Linked DNA regions of Homo sapiens: regions 2, 3, 4 and 5 are each linked to region 1. Evidence: promoter capture Hi-C in 16 types of primary human blood cells and fetal thymus (Javierre and others, 2016). All regions are on one chromosome and are shown on one strand. Each heading gives the region's core, a stretch centred on a gene start or on the middle of the fragment in contact. The rest is flanking DNA. Distances are from core to core; before and after follow the strand shown. Region 1 holds the start of CD55 (CD55 molecule (Cromer blood group)). Region 2 overlaps MAPKAPK2 (MAPK activated protein kinase 2). Region 3 overlaps IL19 (interleukin 19). Region 4 has its middle 12 kb from the start of IL19. Region 5 overlaps MAPKAPK2 (MAPK activated protein kinase 2).

Region 1 (2,700 bases), core at 164-2,663:
CATATACCCATCAATGATAGACTGGATAAAGAAAATGTGGCACATATACACCATAGAATACTACACAGCCATAAAAAAGGATGAGTTCATGTCCTATGCAGGGACATGGATGAAGCTGGAAACCATCAACCTCAGCAAACTAACATAAGACCAGAAAACCAAACACTGCATGTTCTTACTCATAAGTGGGAGTTGAACAATGAGAATACACAGACACAGGGAGGGGAACATCACACACGGGGGCCTGTTGGAGGGTGGGGGTTAGGGGAGGGATAGCATTAGGAGAAATACCTAATGTAGATGTTGGGTTGATGGGTGCAGCAAACCACCATGGCACGTGTATACCTATGTAACAAACCTGCATGTTCTGCACATGTATTCCAGAACTTAAAGAATATATATTTATATATGTATAAATATATATGAATATATAAATATAAATATATATATAAGCTCCCCACGTGATTCTAATGTGTGGCCAGTCTTGCAAACCTCAGGCTATTTATTCTAAAGGGTTTGTAACAAGCCTTCCTCTTAAAATCCACCCCACCACCATTCAGCGTTTTGGGGTCTGTTTGTTTTTATTGTTATCCCACCCCACACCGCCCCGAGGCGCGCGCGCGCGCGCGCACACACACACACACACACACACACACACATACACACACGCACACTGGTGAATTTCTCTCTACAGTCAGTCTGGAGTAATCCCAAAGTGGTGTCTTTCGTAAATAAGGAGAACCCGGGTGAAGAAAATGACTCCCACCCGAACAAGGCATGAACAATGTTCACTCCCTACTGTGTTATTCAACCTGTTTCCCCAGGTCTCTGTTTTCACATTAGAGAGTGTTCTAGGAGATGACGCCCTTCCTCCTTAGTTATTTCCCCACCCTCGTGCTGGCCTTTGACAGACCTCCCAGTAGAGGGCCCAAGACGCGGGTAGAGCACCGCGTCTCAGCGCCTGAGTCTCAGCCCCCGAACTCCACCGCACCTGCAGGTCCCCTTGGCAGCACTCAAGCGCGGGGATGCTCCGCTTAGACGAACTCACGTGCGGGCAGCAAGGCCTGCGATACTTGAGCACCCCTCCCCCTCTCCCGTTTACACCCCGTTTGTGTTTACGTAGCGAGGAGATATTTAGGTTTCTAGAAGGCAGGTCATCGCAGGCCCCACCCAGCAGTGGAGAGAGTGAGTCCCAGAGGGTGTTGCCAGCGAGCTCCTCCTCCTTCCCCTCCCCACTCTCCCCGAGTCTAGGGCCCCCGGGGCGTATGACGCCGGAGCCCTCTGACCGCACCTCTGACCACAACAAACCCCTACTCCACCCGTCTTGTTTGTCCCACCCTTGGTGACGCAGAGCCCCAGCCCAGACCCCGCCCAAAGCACTCATTTAACTGGTATTGCGGAGCCACGAGGCTTCTGCTTACTGCAACTCGCTCCGGCCGCTGGGCGTAGCTGCGACTCGGCGGAGTCCCGGCGGCGCGTCCTTGTTCTAACCCGGCGCGCCATGACCGTCGCGCGGCCGAGCGTGCCCGCGGCGCTGCCCCTCCTCGGGGAGCTGCCCCGGCTGCTGCTGCTGGTGCTGTTGTGCCTGCCGGCCGTGTGGGGTGAGTAGGGGCCCGGCGGCCGGGGAAGCCCCTGGGCTGGGTGGGAGGTCCAAGTCGGTCTCTGAGACACGCACAGGGGCCGGCGACTTGGCAGGTGGGGAGCTTGGCCCGCGGTCGTGGTTCCCGCCGTCCTGTGCCTTTAAGGCTCTCGCCGCTCACCAGCATTTGGGGCTCCTGCTGTGTCGGCCCCCAGCTGACTTGGCTTTAGGGGTCGGCGTGGAGGGTTAAAGAGGCCCCGGCTGGGTTTGCGGAGCAGCCAAGCCTGGCAAAATCGAAAGGGAGGGCTCAAAGAGACTGTATCCTTAACCCCCAAAAAGCTGGTCTAAAAGGATGGGAGGCCAGACCGCTGACCGTTCCCCACTCTCGACAGAGTCCAGCCGTGTGGAGCACACGATGCTGCAAACTTGCATGTCATCTCTTTCAGGTGTGGCATTTCAAGGGGGCTTGTGTCTTGAAAACAGCAACTGTGAGGACACTTGATAGTCATTTCCTTCAGTTCTGCTTTTGTCTCCCTAGGTGACTGTGGCCTTCCCCCAGATGTACCTAATGCCCAGCCAGCTTTGGAAGGCCGTACAAGTTTTCCCGAGGATACTGTAATAACGTACAAATGTGAAGAAAGCTTTGTGAAAATTCCTGGCGAGAAGGACTCAGTGATCTGCCTTAAGGGCAGTCAATGGTCAGATATTGAAGAGTTCTGCAATCGTAAGTTCTTCATCTTTTTAGAAAAGTTCTGGGAATGGAATGTATCTTAAATTTATTTTTATATACCTTTGGAGTGACTAGTAATTGATAGTTCTCTAGCGTTACTAAACCCCAGGGTATACCCTGTTGGCACGTCACACTCCAGCTAATTGAAGACATTTACCACCCTGAGTAGGTCCTGCTGCTTCATTAAGAGTTTTTCTTCCTAACACTGTACCTCTTGAACGAACTAGTAGAGAAAATAAACAATAGGTATTGTTTAGGGAGTAAACATATAAAATATATTTGGCAATTGCCTTGAGACACATAGCGTAAATGATATGTTTTCTTAAGTATTTTATAAAGTAGGACTTACCAAATACAACTCTGTGGTGGCATTTTTAAAAGCTCTCAATAT
Region 2 (2,700 bases), core at 103-2,602, 630 kb before region 1:
TTCCTCTCTCCCTAGGTCATGGAAGTGCCACTGCGATGTGGCTTCCTTTGTTCTGGTGAAGGGGAGATGATTGGAGCCTCTCATGATTATTCTGGATGCTGTTGGAGGGAAATGCCAGAGCTCCCACATCCCCACAGTACAGGCACCATCTCCTTTCCAACACACCTCATACTGTGTACCTGTGGAGGGCAAGACAGTTAGTGTGGCTAGGTGAGAGGCAGTGTCCCAAACTGGAGTTTGCTGGAGTTGTCACAAGGTTAGGAAAATTTCATTGACCAAGCCAGCCTCTTTTATATGCAATATGGTTACAGGTAGGTAACAGTTTGCTGAATATCTATCATAAGCTTAGTTGCATGGAGGATACACATGTAAAAAATGGCCTGTAAAATTTTGAGTCAAGAAACTTATTTAGAGAAGGTGAAATTAACACATGTAGGCTAGGGCTGCACTGTCCAATCTGGTAGCCACTACCCTCACATAGCTAATTAAATTAAAATTAATTAACATGAATGGATTAAACTAAATTAAATTTGAAAAATCAGTTGCTAGCCACACTTCAAGTGTTCAGTAAACATGTGGCTAATGGCTATCGAATTGAACAATGCAGAAGAACATTTTCATCCTTGCAGAACGTTCTCCTAGACTTTGTTGGTCTGGGAGCTAAATCGTGTGGCTGGGAATAGAGGAGCTTTGAAAGAGGGGAATCTGTGGTGACTCCAGGAGCTAAGGGAGGCTCCAGCTGGGGTCAGTGGGACATGGCTGTGCCTCTGAGGAGTGAGCAAGTCTGTGAGAGGTGTGGTGACATTGGCCTGGCTAGAACTGAGGGGAGGAACAGGAGGTCAGAGTGGTCAGGGGTTGGTGGCTCCAAATTGAAGCTAACTCATCTTGTGTCAAAGCAGGCTTTAAAGTGTTTGAGGGGCATGAAGGTGTCAAAAAAGGTTAGGAATCATTGAAGATGGGCTTACAGAATTATGAGGGAAGGGTCAGGTTTGTGGTTTCAGAGATCCTGTCCCTCCTGGCCGTAGCCCTGACCCCAGCCCTGACCCCTGGCTCCTGCAGCAGGGCCCTTGGCATCCACTGAGGCAAGATTGAAGCTGGGTCAGCTCACTGTCCTTTTTTACTTGTGAATTCTGGGCTTTGACTGAGCTTGGAGACAATCTCCAGCTAAGATACGGGATCAGTGGCTGACAGGAGGGGAGAGACAAGCAGTCCCTGGGCCTTAGGGCCAAATATTGGTGGGTGTCTAGGAAACAAAAGAACCCCTTTGTGGGAGGAGGAAGGTATTGGGACCTGTGATGTTTCTGCTACTTGGGACCTGAGAGGTTGGGCCATCCATAATTGATGATTTTTCTTATGAAGCAGGTACAGGGGATTGGGAGGAGGGCCTGGAAGAGCCCAGCCTCAGAACTGCTGGAGGCAAACTTAATCCTTGGGCTAGGGGAGGGGCCAAAGCTCCTGTTAGCCAGAGCCCAGGAGTGTGCTGAGTGGGTGCCAGGAGGAATGTCAGCCAAGATGGGGAAGAGCAGGGCACAGTCGTCTGCATCTGAGCCATTGCCCAGTTCCCAAGCAGCCTTGCCATGCTCTGAGCTGGGGTTCTTCCTGGTGGCGTGATGTCTGTGGTGCAGGATTCACTCTATTCTCCTACCTTTCCTCTACTTCAGGCCCTGCCAAGTGTCATGTGAGGTCTCTTTTCCCCCTCTTCCCTGCACTGTATCTTTCCAGATGGTTCTGTGTCCTGGAGGGAGGTGGATGGGCAGAGAAGAGTTGTTCTTTGCAGGGACTGCAGCTTTTCTTGGTAATGGTTTGAGGCCCAGTGGCAAAGCAACCCACACTTCATAGTAACTTAGAACCCACACTCCCTGGTCATCTTTCTTGACTCCTTGCACATCACTGAGGAAGAAGCTGGCCTAGTGCAGAAATGTTCAGTGGCATGTCCAAGGTCTTACATGGTGTCAGCATCCGAGCCACATCTTGAGACCTGGTTCCCTGGGACCTGCTCTTGGTCTGGGCCCCTTTGGTTTTTGGTTGCTAGAAGACTGTAGACCTGGTGGAGCAAAACTGAGCTCCACTAACGCATCAGCTAGGATCTTTCCACATGGGTTACCTTGTAAATGGGGGCATTGGTGAAGAGAAGGGGCCATGTCACTGGACAGTGTAATAACGTATGGCAGTTATAGAACCCAAATCAGATTGCTGTGTACCTTTTCTAGTTTTTAGGAAAATACTGGTATTTTGTATTTTAAGATATATATATATATATATATATACACACATACACAGATATAGATATGTAGAGATGAGCTTGTTACCATGGGTTATGTGCTAGATAAGAAAGCAAAAATAAGTGCATACATAAATAGAAAGCTTCCAGTGTTTGTATGCTGCTAACAAGTTACATGACCTTGAATAGGTCAGCTAAACTTTCCAGGCCTCATTGCACAGAGGGTCGGCTCGAGCAGCTCCTGAGCACCGGCAGGGTGAGGCAGTAGAAGGCGGTGCTGCAGGCCAGAGGTGGAGGGCAGGCAGGATAGCTTGCTGACTTGCTCCGGGTCTGACCATCAGCAGTATCTGGGTCAGCACAGATGCCCTTTCGTAAGCTTAGTGCCTGGCTCCAGGGCAGCCTGTGTCCAGTTAATGAATAATCATCACTGACCAGCTGCTCCTTCTCTTGTGTGAAGACTTAGAAAGTGTTCTATGCTG
Region 3 (2,700 bases), core at 185-2,684, 520 kb before region 1:
GAGTTGGTGATGGAGATGGGATTAGACCATTCCATTAGACTTTAAAACACATGGCTTATTGGGGCCCTAGAGAACACCTAGTAATTCAGGTTGCCTGGTGCCTACAGTAAGTCAGTAGGTTGTGAGAGGAAAGGTGTACATGACAGAATTATATTATTCATAATATCTGGGTGGTTTTTTTTTCTGCCTTCCATGTACCAAAACCTGGGCTAAGCATTTTTATATATTACCTCATCAAAACGAACAGCACCTTTATCAAGCGATTACCCCTATTTTACAGATAAGGAAACTAAATGTCAGAGAGTTCAATAATTTTCCCAAGATCACGAAGCCAATAAGTGATGGAGTCATGACTTAAATTCAGGTCTTTTGGTGACACAACCCAGACTAATTGGGAAAGAGCTTCATGGGTAAATCGTGAGTCATACTTAATTTCAATTCCTGGTGACATAATGAGGGTACAAATTTTCAATTTTTTTTTTCTTTTTTTTTTGCCATGGGCAAGTTCCAAGCCTGGGCTTCTCTTCCAACACTGTCCCTCCCTTCCCTGTATAGTTCTGCTCACTTGTCCTGTCTTCTTGCTCTGTCCTCTATGCCCACATGTATAGAACTGGATCCCCAATCAAGGCTAACTGCTAGCCTTAAAGAAAGACCAATCTTCTGGCAGATAAGAAGGACTGTTAAGGAAGACGAGGGGACAGGAAAGCAAGGGGAATGTCAAAGAAATAAGGGGCCTGGCCAATATCTCAAGAACAGAAGCAGCTGTGGCCCTGGAAGGGCGAGGGGGACGTCATTTCCTTTTCCAGATCCCTTTTTTCCTTTGAGGTTCAGTCCCAAATGGGTAAAGTTCAAATACTAGTCTTACTCAGAATTCCCTAGTCCTGCTTGCTCAAAAGGTGGATTTTCTGGCCTCACTCCAATCTTCAAAACATCTTTTTGTGGGGCTTGAGAGTCTGCCTTTTAAAATAGCACCCCAGAGAGTCTACACATTGAGGGCCTTGGCTTCTGTAATGCAGTTACATCCATGGGCTTTCGCTGTTGCTGCTGAGAGAACTTGGGGTGCCAGGAAGTCGGGGTTGGATGCCTTCCAGTTCCCTGCCCTAATCAGAGGCATTGACCTGGAGGCCCTGTGTAGGAGTCCCCATCTTTCGGAATTAGTGATGTGGTTAGAGTAGCAACGTGACTCTCTGTGGACGGAAGAAGGTAGGTCGGATGTGAGAGTCTCCCTCCATGAACATGTGTGCGTCATCTGAGTCAAAGCTTGTATCTTTACTCTCAAAAACAAGTCATTTTTGTTCCTGTCAGCATCTTGGCCAGCCCACAACAAAGAGTACAAGCTGGATGCTTGTACTGTGCTGCGATAAAGAGGCCCAGACACAGGCCTCAGGTGATCCTACAGAGCATGGCTGGAGAGAACAGGAAAGGATTATTCCCCTGGGGGCTGATGGGGCTGCCTTCAGCAACACAAAAACATGCTTACAGAAAACTGCTGGAGGACATAGGAGTGATCTGCTTGCAATGAGGTTTTTCAACCACCAGGAATGGGGTGACCTAGTCCAGAGCCCTCTAATAAAGTGACTTTCAAACTGACTGCACTTCAAAATAATCCTAAGCTTTAACAAATAGAGATGCCCAGGCTTCATCCCAGATGTACAAAATTCAACTCTCAGGGACAGGGTCTGGGACTCTGTGCAAAGCCCCCTGGGAATTCTGGAACAACTAATCTGGCATTGCTCTAGGAAATAGCACTTGGAAAGCACTCCAGCAAGGTGGGAGGGAAAATTATTCCAGCTTGAACACTACAATATCAAGTAATCCTTTCTCTCTTCGCCCTGTCTCTTCCCTTCCCTTTCTTGCTCTCTGTAACAGGCAGGAGGCTCAGAAGAGCTTCTTCTCTCACGCTTCTTGCAGGGCAGTACAGGGAAAGATGTAGCTGTGTAAATTCCAGGAGGGCTTCAGGTATATTTAAATATGGGTTGCTTGCCACATTCACCTGCCTATCAAGTTTGCAGATGACAACTGCAGAATGTGGCACCCAGGTCTTGAAAGTCATGAAGCAGAATTGGATAACATCTGTCCGAGTCATGACAAAGAGGGTTCCTGTGCTGGGAGTGGGGGCTAATGAACCTGGAGATCCTTTCCAACACAGACATTCCCTGATGCCAATGATAACCTTTTCAAATTGTTGTTTTCTTGATTTTTATCTGTTTCTGGCACCTCATTTGATTCCCTATATGACAATAACCCCCAGGTTGAGTGCACTGAAATAATTTAGGTAATGAGAAGCTGAAAGTTACTACAGATGGAAGGAATTAGGGTGTATAAAGTGTGCATTGTGTGAGTCATAGGCTGTGTCTTTAAGCAACAAGCTTTTATTGGTGTCAGCATCTTTCCAGGTACAATGCAAACCCAGTGAGAATGAGATTTGGGGTTTAAAAGTGTTTCTGACCAGAGATGCCTGAGGGAATGACCCAGGGATCAAACAGAGATGCAAGAGAGCAAGGCTTCAAGGAAACTCACCTCAGCCTGTTTCCTCAACTGCTTTCCGCACCTTTGTTTGCGGGTGGAAGAATAGAAAATGGGCTTGAATTTTTCAATCTAAAATTCTCTGTTCAAACCTGAAATTCTCTTACCTTATAGGAAGAGCAGCTGTATCTTTCAAGGATAGAATGGGTGCTAACTGCATGGGTGAAATTATCT
Region 4 (2,700 bases), core at 27-2,526, 560 kb before region 1:
TAGACTTGCTCGTCATGGATTGCCACGAACCTTCAATTTATGAAAAAACCCTGCATTATCTACAAAGCACAATAAAGTGAAGTGTAATAAAATGAGGTACACTTGTACTCTCAACTCCTCCTCCTCGTCTTTTTGTTATACTCACGGGGCAAAACAATTCTGCCTTCTATGTATTGCTCCCCCGGCTGCCAAAAGAATCCTGAGAAAAATGATATAGTCTGGCAGACCATTTCAATTCATGATCACCTACCTCAACTGAGCTCAACACTGCCTGGGAATCTACTACATTTCTCTAGAGTCGTTTGTCTTCCGTGTCTCTGCAAACATCATTTCAAACCTTTGTTTCTCTCCTTAAACCGCCCTGCATTCTCTCCTTATTCATTCTCTTAAGAGTAAATATAAGTCATCTGATGAAATTAACCTCAACTTCCTGCCAACGATTCTTCAAACCAACCTGCTTCTGTACCCACCGTCTCTACTTTCTTCCTGTTATTATTCAGAGGAGGTGCCCTCTTCATTTCAAAGGTAGTTCTTTGCTCTGCCTGCATCCCACCCCGTCCTGCTTTCTGAGTAACCTGACTTCATCAGTTCTCCCATCTCACTCTTCTGTCTTCAACTTCTTCTTCTCCTCTCCTGGCCCAATGTCTTGAAACAGTTGTCCACGCTTGTCATCCTATTATTATTATTTGAGATGGAGTCTTGCTCTGTCACCCAGGCTGGAGTGCAATGGCATGATCTTGGCTCACTGCAACTTCCACCTCCCTGGTTCAAGCGATTCTCCCACCTCAGCCTCCCGAGTAGCTGGGATTACAGGCGTGCACCACCACACCCGACTAAATTTTGTATTTTTAGTAGAGATGGGGTTTCACCATGTTGGCCAGGCTGGCTGGTCTTGAACTTCTGACTTCAGATGATCTGCCTGCCTTGGCCTCCCAAAGTGCTGGGATTGAAGGCGTAAGCCACCACGCTGGTATAGCAGGCATGAGCCACCCCATTTTTTCACCTCCTATTTCATGTGCAACCATCCGTCTTCCATCCCTACCGCTCTACATCCCTACAGCTCTACATCCTTACAGCTCTTCTTGATAAAATCAACAGTGCCTTTCATGTGTTCCATGCACTAGGGGCTCTTTTGCCTTGATTTTACTTGACGTTTTGATAGCATTTGATCTAGCTGACCATTCTCTTTCTCGAAATAGTTTCTTTCCTTGTCCTCAGGGATGCCACTCTCTTCTGGTGTTTCTTTTTATCGCTCAGGCCACTCTTTAATGAGTCTCTTTGACAGCTTCTCCTGCTCTGGCTTATGAATATCTGGGTTCTTCGGAGCTTGGTTCTGGGCTCTCTTCTCTTCCATTCTGCACTGTTTTCCCTTGGTAATCTTACCCACTCCCACGATTTTACTCACCATCTTTGTATCAATGACCCCCACATAGTGATCTCCAGACTCAATCTTGATGTCCATCTGACCACGTGTATATTTTCACTTAAAGACTCAGAGGCACCTCCAACTCAGCAGGACCAGTGTAGACCAGATCACCTTCCCCTTCAAACTTGCTGCTTCTCCACCCAGCTGCTCAGACAAGAGATGAGGGTTCACCTTGGCCGTCGCCCACTCTCACCATTCTGACCTAAATAATTGCAGACTATTTGAAACCTTGCACTTCTCTCAATTCCTGTTTATTACCACCTTAGTCCAGAACACAATTTCTTCCTGTCTGGACTGGAAGCAAATGGCTCCTAAATGGTCTCATACAGAAGGTATATATTATCCTCTCTGTTTAATAGCCTTCAATGGCTTCCCTTTGCTCTTAGAGTCTAAATTTTTGACCATAGCCTACCATCCCTGAGTGATCAGACCCATGCCCACTTCTTCAAGCTCGTCTTAAATCTCTCCCCATCACATATAATGTCCCTTACTCTCTGTGATTCATCTTTTAGTTTCTCAAAGAGTTTAAGTTTCTTCTTGCCTCAGGGCCTCAGAACATGAGATGGGATGGAGAAGTCAGAGAGCTGTGAAGAGAGCCCAGGGTCCAGCTGGGTCGTGAATTGGTACAAATTTACCTTTGCTCCAGAGATAAACCCCTTCTCCCCCGTTCTTTGCTGTTCTTAGTGGTCTTTAAATCTGCAAAATGCTCTGCTTCTTACCACCTCTCTCTTCATTGGGCCAGCTCCTGCTCATCCTTCATGTCCAGTTGAATGTTACCATCTCATGAAAGCATCCCCTAGCCCTGAGTCTAGGTTAGTTGCTTTCTGAAATCTCACACTTCTAATTAATAGAAATAATCATGATTATAATAACATTATATAGTTAACTTTATAATATCTGTTTCCTCAACTAGCTATTAAATCCGTGTAGCTGGAGCCAGGATTGGTGGGAGGCTGAGGAAGGAGGATCACTTGCACCTAGGAGTTCAAATCCAGCCTGGGCAACATAGTGAGACCCCCATCTCTATTTAAAAAATTAAAAGAAATCCACGAGGGCAAGGATTATGTCTGTCTTATTCACTGCTTTTTCTTCGACACCCAGCATAGTACCTGGAGCATAATAAGTTCTGAGTGAATAAGTGTGTATCTTGTAAAACCTCTGGCTTGGCTTGCCTCCAAGCCAGAGGTTTGGAGACTCCTTTCCAAAAAAAAAAAAAAAAAAAAAAGAAAAAGAAAAAGATGTAATAGATGACTGCCAAATAGAACTCTGATTGA
Region 5 (2,700 bases), core at 159-2,658, 610 kb before region 1:
CTCCCTGGTTCTTCTTATGGCTTTGGATGTAGCTTGAAGACATGCTCCTAGCATTTTCACAAGCTCTGCTTGTTGTGTTTAGTGAGCGCAGACTACTCCCTTCGGGCCTGTCCTGGCTCATGGGCAGTTGCTCGTGTCTTTGCACACATCCTTTACTGTCTCAGCTCTTCACTTCTCCCTGACATTTGTGGCTGCCTCCTCCTGGTTTCTTCTTTAAGCGATTATTGTGTTTTAGATGATCAGAATTCACTTTTTAGAGACTTGGACCTTGTCTTTCAAAATGCATTCCCTTTTGGGATCTCTGCCCATCATACTCCTTGGTCTCAACATCTAAATATTGGTTTTTTTTTTCTTTTTCTTTCTTTCTTTTTTTTTTTTTTTGAGATAGGGTCTCACTCTGTTGCCCAGGCTGAAGTGCAGTGGTACGATCATTGGCTCACTGCAGCCTTGACCTCCTGGGCTCAGTGATCTTCCTGCCTCAGCCTCCTGAGTAGCTGGGGCCACAGGCTAGTGCCACCATGCCCTGCTAATTTTTTAAATTATTCATAGAGACGGGGTCTCCCTGTGTTGCCCAGGCTGGTCTTGAACTCCTCCTTCTCCTTTTTGTATCCTCTTAGTCATCAAGCCATCCTCCTGCCTCAGCCTCCCAAAGTGCTGGGATTTCAGTGTGATCCACTGCGCCTGACCTGAATATTGGTTTTTTTGAAGTCTAGGCTAAACAACTGTTTTTGTCTCAGTTTTTTTTTTTTTAATTTCCCTCCTTTGAACTCTGAATTGACAAGCTTACTTCCTCCCAATGTGGTGTTCTTGTTATTATTGTTTTTGCTAGCTGAAGTATTTTTTTTTTTTTTAAACATAATTTACTAGGTTTTTCTTCCTGGCCAGAAGTAAGTTCAGGGTAATAGTTCCCTTCCTTGTATCTTCAGCTGTGTGAGAGGTAATGTAGAGTGAGAATTTATTTATCAGGTGCCCTGCTCGTAGCAGAAGGCATGACCTCGACTTCTCTCTCACAGTGACCTTGTGTTTGTGTTGGTGGCTTGAACTCACTCTTGTGTCTGGGCCATTTCTCTCACTGTGTAGGAAAGAGTGGTTCCTGTCTTCTCCCTGGCCATGTAGTCTGCTGTGTGTCACCATAACAATCATCTATCTTCCGGTTCTTTTTCCTTCTCTCCTCACCCAGTTGTCTCCAGTCTTAGGCGTGTGGAATTGTGTACTGGGTGGGGGATGTGTGTGTGTGGGCCGCCCTCTTGATTTGTAGGATCCTTCTCTTCCTCCACATTCTCTGTCAACTCTCCTCCACCCCCTGTGAGATCTGTGGACTCAGGTATACGTTGCTGTGAGTCTCATTCTGCTCAGCTGGGGTGATGAAGGTGAGATTGCTTTTGTCGCTTCAAAGTAAAATTTTAGATTTGCTTTGGCAGCCGCACAGGGTCGTATGCATGGGGGCTGCTTAGGCCAGAGGCGCAGTGTTCCTGACCTCCTTCCGTCTTACTTTCTCTTGCTAGTTTGTCCATCTCTGTGGATTTTTTAAAGTAGATACTAGATACCTAGATACTACTAAGAACATGATCTTTCTCTTCTTGCCACTTGGATTTTAGCTTAAAGCCAACTTGGAACATTTAGGGTGTTTCCTTCCTACCACTGTCTGCCTGGTCTCCTAGGGAAAGATGCCTTGTATCTTGTTCTGGTGTACAGTCTGCCCATTTAATTGGTAAGTGTTTATTGTGACTCTTCTCTACTGGGCTCTGGCCCCAGGCCTGATGCGAATAGGGCAGGCCTGTGAACAGAGCAAAGACGAGTCACTTAGGAGGGGACGAGAGAGGCCAGCGGTAAACTAATATTACCAGCTCAGGGTTTATTTGTCAAAGCCTCCTTTGCTGTGAATAAAAGGTTAGATCTGAATTGGGTCTGAGTCCTGGCTTTATTACCTACTAGCCATGTGGCCTTGGGCAAATTATTAATACTTCCTTGGGCCTTGGTTGCCGCACCTGTACGATGGAGTCAGCAATGGATCCTGTTCTGTAGGGCTGCTAGGAAGCTTAAATATAGCAATATTTGCTATATATAAAGTGCACCTGGTACATAATTGATGCGGTTGAAATGAAAATTCCTCTTTCTCTTTCAGTGCCATTTGCTGGAAGAAACAGAAGAAATATCTCTGTCCCCATCTTTCAGTTTCCTACCCAAGACTCCTGTGTGGTTGACATCACTGCTGTGTGCAGTGTTCATGTCCATATAAGTCAGAAGTGGCTTGCAGCAGTGGTTTGGGGCTTTGGGGCCTCTGCTCGCTCCTTATCAATTCTTAGGGTTACATCCTCTGGGAAGATGCCAGGCCTGGTCAAGTGTGGCCTCTGACCTAGAGTTATGCAAGGCCTCTCTTCCTCCTGTGGCCAGTGTGAAATTTCTCATCTGTGCTCTCCTGCCTCTAGCAGGAAGGTTGGCCTACATTTGGGGCACATCTCTGTCACTGTCTCAGGCCAGGGGTTCAAATATAAGACCTGAATCATACTGCACCTCAGAACCCAAACCCTTTTACTTAATTTTTTTTAAAAAATTTCATTCAGATGGTAAAGGTTCAAACAATACATAGAGATATAAAACAGAAAGAAAAAAAAATACACGCCTCTCTCTAGTACCTATTCCCCAGTAGTCAACACTGCTACCTTTTTTTTGCAGGGGAGGTAAATTCCTCCAGAAAAA

The links. Contacts are between HindIII fragments. The CHiCAGO score rates a contact against its expected background, and 5 or more counts as called.
Region 2: a contact is called between a fragment that was not itself captured here and the fragment with the promoter of CD55 in region 1, in 1 of 17 cell types (neutrophils). The highest score is 5.2, in neutrophils.
Region 3: a fragment that was not itself captured here is called in contact with the fragment with the promoter of CD55 in region 1 in 1 of 17 cell types (naive CD4 T cells); the score reaches 5.3 in naive CD4 T cells.
Region 4: a fragment that was not itself captured here is called in contact with the fragment with the promoter of CD55 in region 1 in 1 of 17 cell types (total CD8 T cells); the score reaches 5.2 in total CD8 T cells.
Region 5: a fragment that was not itself captured here is called in contact with the fragment with the promoter of CD55 in region 1 in 1 of 17 cell types (megakaryocytes); the score reaches 5.6 in megakaryocytes.

What each region holds. Positions count from the first base shown.
Region 1 is chr1:207,320,265-207,322,964 of GRCh38, forward strand. It overlaps CD55 (CD55 molecule (Cromer blood group)), which reads left to right and starts at 1,414. Exons shown (of 10, transcript NM_000574.5): 1 at 1,414-1,601; 2 at 2,118-2,303. The coding sequence starts at 1,502. It overlaps LOC107985251 (a long non-coding RNA gene), which reads right to left and starts at 1,865. Exons shown (of 3, transcript XR_007066838.1): 1 at 1,422-1,865. RefSeq lists an enhancer at 840-1,049 and a silencer at 1,610-1,689. The HindIII fragment of the contact is 4,328 bases long and covers 1-2,218 here.
Region 2 is chr1:206,689,239-206,691,938 of GRCh38, forward strand. The region is part of intron 1 of MAPKAPK2 (MAPK activated protein kinase 2); the gene reads left to right. Among named protein-coding and RNA genes, the nearest start is that of MAPKAPK2, 5.7 kb to the left of the region's middle. The HindIII fragment of the contact is 2,020 bases long and covers 343-2,362 here.
Region 3 is chr1:206,802,195-206,804,894 of GRCh38, forward strand. All of the region lies in intron 2 of IL19 (interleukin 19), which reads left to right. Among named protein-coding and RNA genes, the nearest start is that of IL10, 31 kb to the left of the region's middle. RefSeq lists an enhancer at 984-1,033. The HindIII fragment of the contact is 353 bases long and covers 1,259-1,611 here.
Region 4 is chr1:206,757,589-206,760,288 of GRCh38, forward strand. No RefSeq gene overlaps it. Among named protein-coding and RNA genes, the nearest start is that of IL19, 12 kb to the right of the region's middle. The HindIII fragment of the contact is 3,786 bases long and covers 1-2,700 here.
Region 5 is chr1:206,715,264-206,717,963 of GRCh38, forward strand. The region is part of intron 1 of MAPKAPK2 (MAPK activated protein kinase 2); the gene reads left to right. Among named protein-coding and RNA genes, the nearest start is that of MAPKAPK2, 32 kb to the left of the region's middle. The HindIII fragment of the contact is 1,256 bases long and covers 781-2,036 here.